Linked DNA regions of Homo sapiens: region 1 is linked to region 2. The links are contacts of gene promoters, found by promoter capture Hi-C in blood cells and fetal thymus (Javierre and others, 2016). All regions are on one chromosome and are shown on one strand. The core of a region is centred on a gene start or on the middle of the fragment in contact, and the rest is flanking DNA. Distances in the headings are between cores, read along the strand shown. Region 1 holds the start of RTN4RL2 (reticulon 4 receptor like 2). Region 2 holds the start of YPEL4 (yippee like 4).

What was found. The method cuts DNA at HindIII sites, captures the fragments that hold promoters and counts their contacts. A CHiCAGO score of 5 or more calls a contact.
Region 1: the fragment with the promoter of RTN4RL2 here is called in contact with the fragment with the promoter of YPEL4 in region 2 in 5 of 17 cell types (neutrophils, fetal thymus, naive CD4 T cells and 2 more); the score reaches 9.1 in neutrophils.

What each region holds. Positions count from the first base shown.
Region 1 is chr11:57,456,219-57,464,037 of GRCh38, reverse strand. RTN4RL2 (reticulon 4 receptor like 2) reads right to left here and starts at 3,510. Exons shown (of 3, transcript NM_178570.3): 1 at 3,142-3,510. The coding sequence starts at 3,172. RefSeq lists enhancers at 1-170, 1,260-1,798 and silencers at 3,234-3,503, 4,603-4,662. The HindIII fragment of the contact is 14,932 bases long and covers 1-7,819 here.
Region 2 is chr11:57,648,515-57,655,773 of GRCh38, reverse strand. YPEL4 (yippee like 4) reads left to right here and starts at 5,862. Exons shown (of 5, transcript NM_145008.3): 1 at 5,862-6,089. It overlaps MIR130AHG (MIR130A host gene), which reads right to left. Exons shown (of 2, transcript NR_186232.1): 2 at 2,873-5,476. The HindIII fragment of the contact is 14,007 bases long and covers 1-7,259 here.

The DNA of each region.
Region 1 (7,819 bases), core at 2,261-4,760, 190 kb after region 2:
GCCATTTCTGGCCCTTGCCACTGCCGTGCAAAGCAGCTGTAACCCAAGGAGCTCATCCATAATTCACGCAGCGGCTCTCACTGGAGGCAAGGAGGAGGGGAGGGGAGGGGGCTCTGGGCTTCACTGCCCCAGGCCTGCTGGGGCTGGAGCGAGCACTCCAGGGCAGAGGTGGTGGGACTGGGGGGTTGGGGGACTAGAGAGCTGTGCCTTTCCCTCTCTCCCCCGCCCTCAGTCCCTGCCCTGCCCAGTGTGTGCCCTTTTCTTTCTTGCCACGTCCCTTCCCCACCCCCTGTTCTCACTCCTCCTCAGCACCACCACTCCTTCCCTCCAGGCCCAGGCCTCCTGTCTCTCCCGAGGACCACGGCTCCACTCCTGGCCTTCATTTTGTGAATTCCCGGTGGAGACTGGGGCAAGATGCACAGAGTATCAGAGCTGGAAAGGGGGATACCTCGGTGGCCACCTAGAGCCGACCCCTCACATCATAGGTAACACCATTGAGGGCTGGGGAGGGGAAGTGTGAGTTTCTGAGCACCCCAGGCCTCCTGACCAGGTCTCTACAGCTCGCCTTCATTGTCTTTCTCAGAAGCCTTCATTTCATCCCTCCACTACTTCATGGACAGAGGAAAGCCCTTTGTAGCAGCCTCCCCCACCCTCTCTGCTCACCCCCTCCTCTAAAGTCAGCAGGGGATGGCTAGAGCTGCAGGGGAGAGTACAGCAGGGTAGGAGGAAACCAAGAAGCACCTATTTTGTCCTAGGCACTGCATTTGTACAGGTTAACTTCTTTATACATTGAACACAACACACATAATCCCCTGGAGGTCAATATTGTGGCCCCCAATTTGCAGATGAAGGAAGGGAGCCCCAGAAACATGACACAGTGGCCTCAGGTCATGCAGCTAGTACAAGGTGGAACCCAGATTGGAAAAGAGGGACATCAAGCCCATGTCAGAGAGACACTCTGATCTTTCTTTAAGAGGTGGCCACATCCTCCGCAGAAACCACGCCTGAATGTGTGAGACACTGCCCTTGAGGTAAAGACAGGAGAGAAATTGCACCCAGGTGCCTAGGGCTGGGCCAGCCACAATGCTGAGTCTGTTTGGCTATTCAGGGTCAAGGCAAGGAAGGGACTCCAGCTCTCTCTGCAACTTTCACCTCCTAGGCTTCCAGTTGCGGTTGTTCTAGAGTAGTGATTACATGTGGGAGTCAAGAAGAGATGACCCCTGTCCAGAATATATGGCCAGAACTGACCAGGGGAGGGAGCCAAGAGAGGCCAGAACATGGTATTGATCCCGGAAGGCTGAAGTGTCCAGAGCCAAAAGTATCTGTTCACTGAGGGACCACTGTCCAGGACTCTGGCTATCAAACCTTGGAGTACCAAGGCTCAGAAACAAAGTTCTCAGCCCACAGGCCACTCTTTGGGCCGGAGGCCCCTGTAGAAGAAGGAACTTGAGGAGAAGAAAACTGGACCCAAAGTAGGGGGCAGGATCCAGGCTACCCACCCACAGGGCAGAGTCGCTGGTGCAGAGTGGTCCCAGGAAAGGATGCTCCCTGGAAAGGCAGCAGAGGCCTCTCGCTCTGGAAGGAGGGGCACAGGGTCCCAGACGAGAAGCAAGGGCTCCACACCCAACGGGCTGCTTCAGGGAAGGGCTGGGGCCTGCGGGCAGATGCTGAGGGGGCAGGGGCTGAGGAGGTGGGAGCTGAGGAGTGGGATGGAGGTGGTGGTGATGCCAGTGACGCAGGGGCCTGGGGAGGCACTGACGCGGGTGACGGAGGTTTAGAGCTGCTGCAAACAGCTTCTCACTCTGCCAGAATGTAACACCCCAAAATAAGCAGCCACCGTGGTGGCGGCAGCGGCTGCAGAATCCAACGTCCAGGCCGGATAAATAAATGGCAGCACAGGAGCCAGCCTGTTTGCCCACCCTCGGAGGCTGTCACTCCCCTTCCAAAGTCCTCACCCTCTGTCCCTCACAGCCACCCCCAGGGCCCTGAGCTCAAAGCACCCCCCATCTGGCCCACCAGCCACTCCCTGAGAGAAGAAATGTGGCAGGCAGGCGCTTTGGGAATGGAGGGCTTCCCACGTGGAAGTGGTTACCAGAAGCCTCTTTGTCTCATCCCTGGGCAGCACCCCCAATCCCCAGTCCCTCTCTCTCAGCCTTTCTCTTCCTCCTCCTCTTCCCTCCTCTCCAGCCCCTCTCCCATCCATGGTTCCCTGTCTCCAACCCTCTTCGCCGGTTCCTGATACCCCTTCTCTAGTCACCATCCCCATCCTTCTCTGGTTTCTGATCTTTCCATTCTCCTTTTCCATTCCAGTCCCCAGGGTCCCAGTCCTGATTCTCTTTCCCGCTACCTCCATCCCAGGATTCTGGGTCCCTGTCCATAGTCTTCTTCCCATCCCTCCCCTGATCTGGTCTTTCCTCTCCTTCCCTCTTCCTTGGTCTTCACCTGGGTCCCACTTCCCTCCACGCTTTTCCCATCTAACCTTTATTCCTTCTCCCCCTCCCCCGCTCCATCTCCCTCCTCCTTTGAGCTTCCCTCACCACTTTCTCCATCTTTGAGTTCTCCTTCCTATCCCTCTCCCCCTGACCCCTCCCCACCCCACCCCCAGTCTCTGGCCCACACCCTTATCTGTCACTCAATCAGTAGAACTATCCTCTTTCTAGCGCCCTCCATCTCTCCTACCAGAGAGGGCCACTTGGATTTCCCTCTGCGCCTCCTACCTCCCCAGACAGCCCCCTACCCACATCTCCTGTCTTCCCAGGTGGCCAGAAAGTGCTGAGGCACCGGGCAGGAGGAGTTGCTGAGTCGGCGCTTCCCCAGCCGGCCCGAGTCCTCAGCGTCCCCCGGAGCAGGTGGAGCGGGGACAGCGGAACCTGAGCCTCCCTCCCCGCTCCGGGCCGGGTCCACCTGCCCCCTGCGTCCCACCTCGGTCACGAGCTCCTCGCACGCGCCCGCGGGCTCCCAGCCAAGTGCCCTCCTGCTGAGAACAGCCCTGGCGGCGGGGGCGCGGCCCCAGCGCTGAGCTTTTCCCCTTCCCCAGGTTACCCCACCTCCCCAACTGCCCCACCCTCAATCCCTGAAAGAGGGGACGCCCTGCTTCTCTCCCCAGGATGCCCTCCGCTCTCCCGCCGCTGGCGTTCTTACCTTGCAGCAGGCGCCTGAGCCCGGGCAGCATCTTGTCTCGATGCTCGGGGGAGGGGGCAGCGGGGGGAGGGCGCTCCCACTCGCTCCCTGAGCCCGCCGGATGCACGGCGGGGACCCCGCGGGGCTCCGGGAGGGCCCGGGAGTCCCCGGGCTGCGTGGCCGGGCCGCGGCGCTCTACCCTGCGCCGCCCGGGCTGCGGGCCTCGGGAGGAGCCATCGGCCCCGACGGGACGGGGCGGGGCGCGACGGGGCGGGGAAGGCTGGGGCTGGCCGTCGACGCCCAGCGCCCGCGCCCCGCTAGCTGCGCTGTCCGCTCGAGAGTCCGTCAGTCCGTCTGTCCGTGTGCCCAGGCTGCTAGCCGAGGGAGAGTGGGGACAGCGAGGAAGCTCTTCCCAACCACCCCCACTCCTTCCCGCACTCGCTGGCTCCTCCCTCGTTTGCTGGCTTGCCGACTTAACCCTTTCTCGACCACTAGGAGGCGGGAGCGGCTTTCTAACCCCCTCCACCCCGCCCCCCTCCCCCCCGCTTAAGCGACCCGGAGGACTGTGTTCGATCGTCCTCGCGGCGCCACTCTTCTAGAGAAATCCCTTCTTGGGGGAATGCGGTAGTTTAGAGGAACGCCGTGGACTTGTCCTGTTCCCCCCTCCCAACTTTCCAGGAGAAGATGAGCTTCTGGGTCACCCCCTCCCCCGCCCCCAGCCGCGTCCCTCGCGCCAGTGTCCCAGCCTCCAGCATTTCTGTCCCCTGGGACAGCTCCAAGATTCCACTTTTCCTTCCACTCCCAGACCTCAAGCCCAGTGTGCGACTATAAGAATAGTATATGCAAGAGTTTGTGCGTGCAAGATCGAGTGCATATGAGCGTGCACGTGCGCGCAAGGATGCTTGTGCAGGTGTGACTCAGGATGCTTGCCCGTTACCCTTTGTACGGGCTTGGGGAAGCGGGGGGGGGGGCACGTGAGTGTGCACACGGGTGAGCCGCTGAAAGTCCGCCAGCGTGCATGTCTGAGCTGGTGGGAAACGTGAGGCTGTGCGAGGTTTTGCGCTTGCGATCTTGGGGATGGGTGGAAAGAAATATGTGCCCGGTGTGTGTATGCCCCTTAGTGCATTTACAAGCGGGTGCGAGATGGGCGCGCGTGCGAGTGTGTGCGTTTTTTTGTGTATGTATGATGTGTCCGGGAGGGGAGACCTTATCTCCCGCGGGGGTGCAGGAGAGGACCCAAAGCTGGGGAGAAGACTGTTGGCTTCGCGTGAACTTCCTCTACCCCCTTTTAAAGAGGGGCGGATTATGGTCTCACTGGAGCCCCTCTGGCCCTTCATGGCCTGGTCACAGGCGGTATCAGCAGACCCATCACCTAGGCACTTCCCTACAAAGGCTGCAGGGCGGTTGACCCAGGTCTTGACTCGGCCCGGCGCGTCCGCGGAGCCGCCCCGGCGTAGGATAGGCTCGGGGCCCTCGGGGGAGCCGCTTCGGGTACGGTGGCCAGGCAGCGCTGGCGGGGTTGGGGCTGCTGGAGCCTCAGGTGCGGCGGTGCCGGGGCTGCTGAGCCCCCTGGGCTGCCGCTCCCGCGAGCACAGAAGCCCCTCGCCCCGCTGCCCGCGCCGCGGCTCCTCCTTTCCTATCCGTGCCAGGGTCCAATGCAGTGCCTGGCATACAGTCGGCTCTTGATAAATGTTGGTCTTATTCTTCCCATTCATTCTCTGCTCCCTCCACGGTCTCTCGTTCTTCTCGCGTTCTCATTCGATTTCTCTGGTTTTCTCCCCCGACTCTTACTCATATTTCGTGGTCTCTGTCTCTCTGTTCCCTCCCTCCCTCACTCTCTCTCGGACCTTTTCTGTCTCTACTCGTCTGTTTCCCTGCCCGGTCTTCTGTCTTTCTCACTGTCTCTCTGTGTCTTCGTCTCTCTCCTCCTCCCCGCGGGGCTCCCTGCGTCTCTGTCTCTCGTCTCTGTGTGTCTCGGTGTCTCTGCCTCCCTTTCTCTCCCCCTCTTCCCCAGTTTCATTCCCAGGCTCCCGGCCCGTGGGCACCTCGGCTCTCGGGTGCCCCCTGCTGGTTCCATTTTCGGACCTTCTCGGCCCCCCAGCTCCTCTCTGTGCCCCTAAATTTCCTTTCCCGCCCCTCTCGTTTTCGGATCAGGTAGAAACAGAAAGAAAAGTCTCTGGGGCTCCCGTCTTCCCTCACCCAGGGCTCCCCCTATTTCCAGGAGGCAGGACAGGACCCTGCGTTTCCCCAGGACCCACCCCGACTAGGGCCTGCGCCTGGGGGGAGGGCCTGGAGGCGGCGGCGGGGAGGGAGTGTTGGGGGTAGCAGGGTGGGGTTTGGCGTCCTTCCCCGGAATGAGCCGCGGCACAATCTGTCGCTGGGTTTGTTTGCCGAGCTGCCTCCGGAGCGCAGTGGGGCTGGCTCCCGGGGAGCGAAATATCACAAGATGCGGAGACAGACGCTGAGGGGCGGGTGGGCGGCGGGCTGACTCAGGTGTGCTGTCATCGGTTCCCGGGGCCCGCGCTCTTCGGGGAGGGGTGGGAGGGGACCCCGGGCCCCCAAGGCAGGCGGAACCCCGAAGCTGGGGGGGAGCTCCTCCTCCTGGGACGAGCTGCGAGGAAAGGGAAGCCCCGTCCGGGAATCCCTGGCTCCAGGCAGTCGCAGCCCCTCTGCTCATCCCCGCCCCTTATACAGGTGTCACGGTTTCCCATAATTATCTGCTGACTCACCCCCTCCACCCCCAACTAGACTACCAGCTTTTTGAGGGCAGGGAACTCGTGTCATCCATTGTCGTGTTTCCAGCAGGTGCCCACTGAAGACTTTTAGGTGGCTGGCTGGTGGGTGGGTGGCTGGCTGGTCTCATTTTACAGTAGGTGCCACAATGCATTTGGTCTTCTCTGTAGAGCACTCTGACCCCTCTTACCTCCCCCCATCCACATTTGCTGTCCCCACCCCACCTAGCTCCGGTTAGGGTTGGGGGGAGGGGGGACGAATTGGAAATTTGAGTCTGGAGATCAGAGTTCTCCAGGTGACCCTAGACAATGTACTCCCCTTCCTTGTGCCTCAGTTTCCTCATCTGTACGGTGAGGCTACCCGGTCATCGCGAGGCTGCATTAAGTCTCCAGGCACCCCAGGCATGAGAAAGTGCTTGGTAAAATGAGGTGTGTTGGTGTGTGGAGGGGTGGTAGGTAGCTAATGTCGTTACTATTTTGGCAGTAATTCTTTGGTGGCAATGATTGTCCCAGTAGAATCAGACACATCATGCCTGAACATGAGTTGGGCTTCTGCAGTTAGACATTTTGAGATCGAGGACTCGGCCTCTGGCTGGACTCTTGGACACTGGGCTGGAGGCTTGGCCGGGCTTTGGTGTGCTGGGTCTTCAAGCCTTGGCCGCAGTGCTGGCCCGCCCTCTGGTGGCTCTAGGTGGATCTGCAGCCCCACGGGAAGCCAAGATCTCTGGAGATGGGCTCAGCGTCGGATTTTCCCTGAGAAGGAGGAGGACACCCGCCCCCGCCCACCCCATTGTCTGGAGAACAGCTGGCTTTGGAAAGGAGACCAGGTAGAAGGAGGGGTTTATTGGCACAGACTGGATGAGTCTGGACTTCCGAGTTCTCACTTACTAACAGCGCAGCTACTCTCAATGTGCCACCCAAGATCCCCCTTCCCTCTGGGCATACCCACCGAGTGAGTCCACAGAACCTCCCTGGCTCTTCCCTTCACCTCTTTGTCACCTTCACTGTGTAGAACACTTGGCGGTTAGTGTACGAGGTCCGGTGGCTCAATGGGCGAGAGCACAGGCTTTGATGGGTTTGTGCCCTGGCTCTGAAGCTCTCTAGCTAGGGAGGGGACCTTGGGCAAGTCGCTTACCTTTTCAAACCCCAGTTTTCCTATTCAGAAGATGGGAGGGGCTGGGCATGGTGGCTCGTGTTGGTAATCCCAGCAATTTGGGAGGCTGAGGCGGGCGGATTGCTTAAGACTAGGAGTTCAAGACCAGCCCTGTCGACTTAGCGAGACCCCTGCCTCAAAATTAACCAGTCAGTCAATCAATCAATCAATCAATAAAAGAAATTGGGGGGTGGTGACACTAGTTCCTAGCTCAAGTTTGAGGCCATCCCTGGTGACTTAGAAGGACCTTGTCTCAAAATAAATAAATAAATGAATAGATAGATAAATACATAGATAAATAAATAAATAAGATGGGAGGAAGAAGGACGATACTTGTTCCCAGCTCATAGAGTTGTTTGAGGCTTAAAAGAAACAAAGCATGAAAGAACATAACAGAGTAGCTGACCCTGTATTTGGTAAATGCTGATAATATTATTTTTACTTTTATCCTAGTGACTACCTGGAGAAATAGGCATTGCAGTCTAGAGGCAGAAAGAAAAATGATGATCTGCTGTCATTTATTTATTTATTTTGAGACAGTGTGTCATTCTGTCTCACTCTGTCATCCAGGCTGGTGTGCAGTGGCATGATCCTGGCTCACCGCAACCTCCGCCTCCCAGGCTCAAGCAGTCCTCCCACCTCAGCCTCCCAAGTAGCTGGGACTACAGGCAGACACCACCACGCCTGGCTAATTTTGGTAGAGGTGGGGGTCTCACTATGTTTCCCAGGCTGGTCTCGAACTCCTGGAATCAAGCAATCTGCCTGCCTTGGCCTCCCAAAGTGCTGGGATTGCAGGTGTGAACCACTGCACCCA
Region 2 (7,259 bases), core at 4,613-7,112:
TTTTCAGGTGTAAATTCATTTAATCGTAGCCAGAATCCTATGCAGTAGGTACTATAATTGTCATCTCCACTTTACAGGTGAGTACTTTTTTCAGTCCGGCTCACGTAGTTAATTCATATTGAGGAGACTGGGAAGATTTTCTGGTTCGCCAGAAAGATTTTCTCCTGCTGGCCCTACTTAGCAGCACTCCCCAAGCAGTGCCATCCTCACTTATCACTTCTGAGTTTTTCTTTGATGGTTTGCTTTAATTATTTCATTCATTGAACATATATGCATTAGCTTTTTTTTTTTTTTTTTTTTTTTTGAGATGAGGTTTTGCTCTGTTGCCCAGGCTGGAGTGAAGTGGTGCAATTTCAGCTCACTGCAACCTCTGCCTCCTGGGTTCAAGTGATTCTCCTGCCTCAGCCTCCCAAGTAGCTTGGATTACAGGCGTGTGTCACCACGCCCAGGTAATTTTTGTATTTTTAGTAGAGATGGGGTTTTCACCATGTTGGTCAGGCTGACCTCAAACTTCTGACCTCAAGTGATCTGCCCATCTCCGCCTCCCAAAGTGCTGAGAACACAGGCGTGAGCCACCACGCCCGGCCTATGCATTAGTTTTTCAATTAACTATTGTGTGTCCCCTAATCTTCCACTCTTCTTTAAAAATTCAGTTCCAGTCTTCCATTTGCAAATTTTCTCCCTGAGTGGGCTTATCCTCGCCTTTTTCCATGCAATCTATCTCCGAGATCTGTATCTTCGCCTCTACTATCTCCCTTGAGGCAGTTTCTCCCAGTTACCTGAAAGTTGTTTTTATTTGGATATTGTATAACCATCTCAAGCTGAACTTAGGGAAAAGAACCCCTCCTTTCCTTTAGGCTGCTCTCCATTTTGCCTCTAAAATACAGAAAGAGTCAGGACACAACATTTAAAGCATCTGTGCTTGACTACACTCTCTTCTCTCACTTTTTTTTTTTTTTTTTTTTTTTTTAGATGGAGTCTTACTCTGTCTCCCAGACTGGATTGCAGTGGTGCGATCTCAGCTCACTGCAACCTCCATCTCCCGGGTTCAAGCGGTTCTCCTGCCTCAGCCTCCCGAGTAGCTGGGATTACAGGTTTCCACTGCCACACCCAGCTAATTTTTCTATTTTTAGCAGAGACAGGGTTTCACCATGTTGGTCAGGCTGGTCTCGAACTCCTAACCTCAGGTGATCCACCTGCCTCGGTCTCCCAAAATGTCGGGATTACAGGCGTGAGCCACGGCGCCCAGCTCTTTTCTCAGTTTTAATCTTTCACCAAGCACTCCTGCCATCTCCACCCCACCTCCAAACAATACCGTCATCATATGTTCTTTTTCTCCTCTCCAGCTAGATCCTTGATCATTTTCTTTTTGCTTCCAAACTTTCTTTCTTTCTTTCTTTCTCTCTCTCTCTTTCTTTCTTTTTCTTGAGACATAGTTTCGTTCTTGTTGCCCAGGCTGGAGTGAAGTGGCGCAATCTCGGCTCACTGCAGCCTGCGCCTTCCGGGTTCAAGCAATTCTCCCGCCTCAGCCTCCCAAGTAGCTGAGATTACAGGCGCCCGCTGCCATGCCCAGCTAATTTTTGTATGTTTAGTAGAGAAGGAGTTTTGTCATGTTAGCCAGGATGGTCTTGAACCCCTGACCTCAGGGTCATCTGCCCGCCTCAGCCTCCCAAAGTGCTGGGATTACAGGTGTCCGGCCTGCTTCCAAACTTTGAATCCGAGCTGGGCCCAGTGACTCACGCCTGTAATCCCAGCACCTTGGGAGGCCAGGGTGGGTGGATCACTTGAGATCAGGAGTTCGAGACCGGCATGACCAACATGGTGAAATCCCGTCTCTACGAAAAATACAAAAATTAGCCAGGCATGGTGGCACATGCCTGTAATCCCAGCTACTCAGGAAGCTGAGGTGGGAGAATCACTTGAACCCGGGAGCCGGAGGTTGCAGTGATTCTCGATCATGGCATTGCACTCCAGCCTGGGAAACAGAGCGAGATTCCATTTCAAAGAACAAACAAACAAACAAACAAAACAAAAGAACTTTCGATCCATGCCTTGAAAACTAATCATTTGCCTTTTCCCACTTCTCATTGTTCTCCTCAACAATTGCTTTTCAAAATCTTTTTTTTTCTTTTTTTTTTAAATTTTATTATTATTATACTTTAAGTTTTAGGGTACATGTGGTGCACAACGTGCAGGTTTGTTACATATGTATACATGTGCCATATTGGTGTACTGCACCCATTAACTCGTCATTTAGCATTAGGTATATCTCCTAATGCTATCCCTCTCCCCTCCCCCCACCCCTCAACAGGCCCCAGTGCGTGATGTTCCCCTTCCTGTGTCCATGTGTTCTACTTTTATCTCCCCTCTCTTCTGCTGCCCAAACAAAAGCACTTCTCTCTTCTTTCTTTACCTAGCTTTTTCTCTCAATTCCAAATCTCTAGTACTATCCCTCAAGACACCCACATTGTCTTTTCAGAATTTACTTTAAACCCCAGAATCTTCCCTGATTAAATATTTAGAATCCCTTTTTATTTTCATGCTCAACTAGCAATGTCTCCCATTACCCACATTTCTCTGCCTTAACTTTTTTTTCCCTCTTTACGTGTGAGAAGAAAAACAAACCACCCCCAAGCACTGCTTTCTAGAAGTCCCTATCTTTGTCGTACTTCATTTGCTAAATGCTAGACTCTGTTAGAAATCAGGGTTTTTGTCTTAGGGGATATGTTCTGTGTTCACATACTTTAGTAACATGCACAGGACAGCACCCCATGAGAAATGAATTCTGAGTCAAATGAAATTTAACTGGAAGCTGCTAGAAAAATAGCAACAAAAGATGTAATGTCTTCATAAGACAAAAATTTGGCATGTGTCTCTTGAGATATCAGAATTTAATAATAAATCCTCCCTGGGTTTTGGGGGTCATACATTGAGAATGCTGTTTTGGTTTCACTTTTGTTTTTTTGGTTTTGTTTTTTTTTTTGAGACGGAGTCTCTCTTTGTTGCCCAGGCTAGAGTGCAGTGGTCCCATCTTGGCTCACTGCAACCTCCGCCTCCTGGGTTCAAGCGATTCTTCTGCCTCAGCCTCCCAAGTAGCTGTGATTACAGGCATACGCCATCACACCTGGCTAATTTTTTGTATTTTTAGTAGAGAGGGGGGTTTCACCACGTTGTCCAGGCTGGTCTCGAACTCCCAACCTCAGGTGATTCGCCTACCTCGGCCTCCCAAAGTGCTGGGATTACAAGGTGTGAGCCACCTCACCCAGCCAAGAATGCTTTTTTTTTTTTTGAAACAGAGTCTCGCTCTGTCACCAGGCTGGCGCGATCGGCTCACTGCAACCTCTGTGAGTACAGTGGCGCCATCTCAGCTTACCGCAACCTCTGACTTCCTGTTCAAGCGATTCTCCTGCCTCAGGCTCTCGAGTAGCTGGGATTACAGGCACGTGCCACCATGTCCAGCTAATTTTTGTTATTTATTAGGGATGGGGATTTCACCATGTTGGCCAGGATGGTCTCGATCTCCTGACCTTGTGATCTGCCTGCCTCGGCCTCCCAAAGTGCTGGGATTACAGGCGTGAACCACCGCACCTGGCGAGAATGTTGTTTTGAAATGACACTACTGTTTACTGCCTATCATGTGCCAGGCATTTTTCAGGCATTTAAATGTTATCTCACTTTATTCTGCATCTCCATGAGCTAATAATAATAAATATTATTAGCTTCATTTAGCAGAAGAGTAAGACTAAGGCACAAAGATTATCAGTAATTTGCCTAGTGGTTCCTGCCAAGTAATTGGCAGAGCTAAGAGTCTAATTCAGTCTCTTTGAGACCAAAGCCAGACACTTGGTTCATGTCTGAAGATGCAACTCAACTGCTCTATTAATCAGAGTTCTCTAGCGGGATAGAACTAATAGGATAGATGTATATATAAATCAGAGTTATTACGGAATATTGACTCAGATGATCACCAGATGAGGTCCCACAGTAGGCTGCCTGCAAGCTGAGGGGCAAGGAAGCCAGTCCGAATCCCAAAGTTGAAGACCTTGGAGTTCAATATTCGAGGGCAGGAAGCGTCCAGCATGGGAGAAAGACGTAGGCTCAGAGGCTAAACCAGTCTGGTCTTTCCACGTTCTTCTGTCTGCTTTTATTCTGGCCTAGCTGACAGTTGATTACATTGTGCCCATCCAGATTGAGGTGGGTCTGCCTTTCCTAGTCCATTGACTCAAATGTTAATCGCCTTTGGCAATACCCTCACAGACACACCCAGGAACAATACTTTGCATCTTTCAATCCAATCTAGTTGACAATATTAACCATCACCAGTCCACCCCTTGTCAACTTGAACCCATACACGTCTCCTGAAATCATACATGATCTTCAAATAAAGACAATAATAAGGTCATAATTACGCTTAACATAATACAGCTATCCTTTGTACAACCGGAAACGCACCAATCCCCAACCCAAATGCTATTACATAGAGTTAACAACACTTAAGTGCTGATATCAAGTCAGTAAGTCTTATGTCACATGATAAAGGCAAAAGAAAGGAAATAAAATGAAGATATTTTCTTAATACAAGTGTATATATGCACAAACATGTTCCTAACAAAAGGAGGAGGAAATACTCATGACAATTACAGTCCTCATTTTCTGCAGCTGGTCACATGGTCATAGTTCGTATTGATGACTACCTTCTTTGACTACCCATTCTGAATTCCGTTTGCCTTCAGCAAGCACCTCAGCAGATTATGTTTTTTTTACCTGGTGGAGTGACCCAAACCTTCATTCCTGAAGGGTCTGGGCCATTTGTCATCCTGCCTGGATTGGGCTGTTGCAGTTTCCCATTGACCTTAATCACAGGGCATGGTAATATTAAGAGACGCCCTACGTGATCTCCTGTATTCCACGCATACTTCCTTACCGCCATTGTGGAGTAGTAGACTGATTTCATCTTGATAGTCTGGGTCAAACACTGTAACTCCCTTCTTAGCAAGTTGGCTTAAAAGTAAGAAGAGCCCAAAGTGGCCAGGTGGCAATCTTAACTTCCAGTTTAATGGAATCATTGTTGTGTCTCTTGGTGGCAGCATTCCTCCCTCTGGAACTAAGACCTCTAGGCCAGCAGAACATAATGCCGCGGAAACAACTGCTATTTTGGAAACATCTAAATGCACGGGTCTGCACTGGACATTGCAGTCCTGGGATGTAGAGAGTAATTTCCCAGAAGGCCTGTCTCAGGAAGTTTACAGCCCAATAGAGAACTTCATATAACGTAGGTGTCTCCATTCATGAAGCACGCATAATATGGAGGTAGCTGTTAAGGGGTTCCTGCATGCAAAATGTCACATTGGGTCTATTACTCCTTCAGGAGTATTAAACCAAGGCTTTGAGGCTTGGTACAAGTTTGGGGGCACAGTTTGCCATCCATGACAATTAGTACATCTGTCTTTTCCCTGCTTCAGGGCTGGTGTCCAAGCTGAAATGGGAAAGTGTATCATCTTAAATGTGTGTGTGCTCCCTCACTCTGCATCCATCTCTTCCTTCACCAGCCTTGCCACCTCCTTTCCTCCAGCCCTGCCACCCTCACTGCATCCTTGCCCAGCCCTGTCCTTCCCCCAGGTTCTTCGTATCTCCTTGGCCCCACTGCCTTCCTCCTTAACAACCTGCCTCTCCCCTTGCCCACCATCGCCGCCTTGTCCCTCGGCCCCCACTCCTCTAGCCCCGTCCCTTGATGCCTACCCCCTCCCTTCCTTCCGACCCGCCTCCTGTGTCTCCCAGCCCTGCTCTGACGTGGGAGGTGAGGGGGGGTGGGGGGGATGGATGACTCACAGTGTTATGATGCAGTTCCACAACACACAGCCACATTCACCCACAGACCGAGGTACAGAACGAGAGACAACCTCTGCCCCCCCAGCAGCTGGCCAGCTTTGCAGCCCCAGTCTTGAGCCCCCAACTACCCTCCCCCCACCCACCCCCATCCCCTTCCCAATTGAAGGAGCGGAAAGAGAAGAGAGAAGAGTGAGCAGAGAGATTGAGAGATTGAGAGAGAGAGAGAGAGATAGACGGAGATCTCTGGAGCAGACCTCAAGGTGAGGGGGCAGCCCTTCTCCAAATGAATTTTTTTCTCTTTGCAAATTTCCTCCTCCTGCTGCGTGTTGCTTTCTCCCCTTTGCAAAAGCATTATTCATCCACCCTTTGTCCTCCCTTCCCCCTCCCCGCTGCCTCCGCTCCTCTCTCTCGGTTCCTCCATCCCTCTCCAAGCTCTGACGATTCCCGCACTTATTTCCCGGCAACTTTGGCTGCAGCATCAGGCATCACTGTTTATTGTTTTGCTGCTGGTGCAGACCCCCAAAGCCTGCCCTGGGAGCTGGCGGTGCTGCTAATTATTTGGACCATACCATACTGAGAATACCAGCCTGGGGGGTGCCAAAACCTCAGAGCAGATGAGAAAATCCATTGTGAGCAGGTGTCCCCCCCCTTTTCTTTTCCCCCCTGAGAAGCACGAGATTCGCACCTGGTTCCTCCAGCCTCCGCCTCGGCGCCTCTGCTGTCAGCTGTCAGTTGCCCCCGCCAGCCCTCCCTCTCCCCTTTCTCCTACGGTCCAGCCCCGTCTCACTTCAGGGGAACATCTCTCCCCAGCACTCGGCTTGCCTTTGTTTTTTCTCCAGTCATTTGCCCAACTTGCTTCTCCCTGTGATCCGAGATGGGTGAAAAAATGACCCCTACTCCCCTTTGTGATTCTCTGGCCTTCTGTGCAGCCTTTCCTTGGCTTGACTGGGAATTAGGGGAGAGGGAGGGAGGCGTGACGGCCGGAGGCTGGAGAAGGAGCTCAGGATTGGGGACCCAAGCTGCCCCATTCTCCATGCCCCTTGAAGAAGGTGTTTCAAGGTGGTGCATGTCAGAGGGGAACTCGCTGGCAAAGTTGAAGGCAAACCTGTGAAGCAGAGACTGAAAGGTGGTCTCTTGGCAAGGAGGGCCCGTTTCCTGCAGCCGGAGCCCAATGTCACCCTGAACTCAGCCCAAGGTGTCTTCCTGGGACCCAGCCCGGAGGAGAGGACCTGAAACTGAAGATAGTCTCTATGGAGGTTTTGCGGAGAGACTGCCTGGCGGCCTTCAGAGAGAGTGGAACAGCTGGGTGCCTGTGGCCACTGCGGAGGACAGGACGAGGAGAGCCTGTATGCCCTGGCTAACCAGAGCCAACACTGCCTCTTCTCTGCTTAGTGCTCTAGCATTGCCAGAGTGCCCAGCTGGCATCTCTG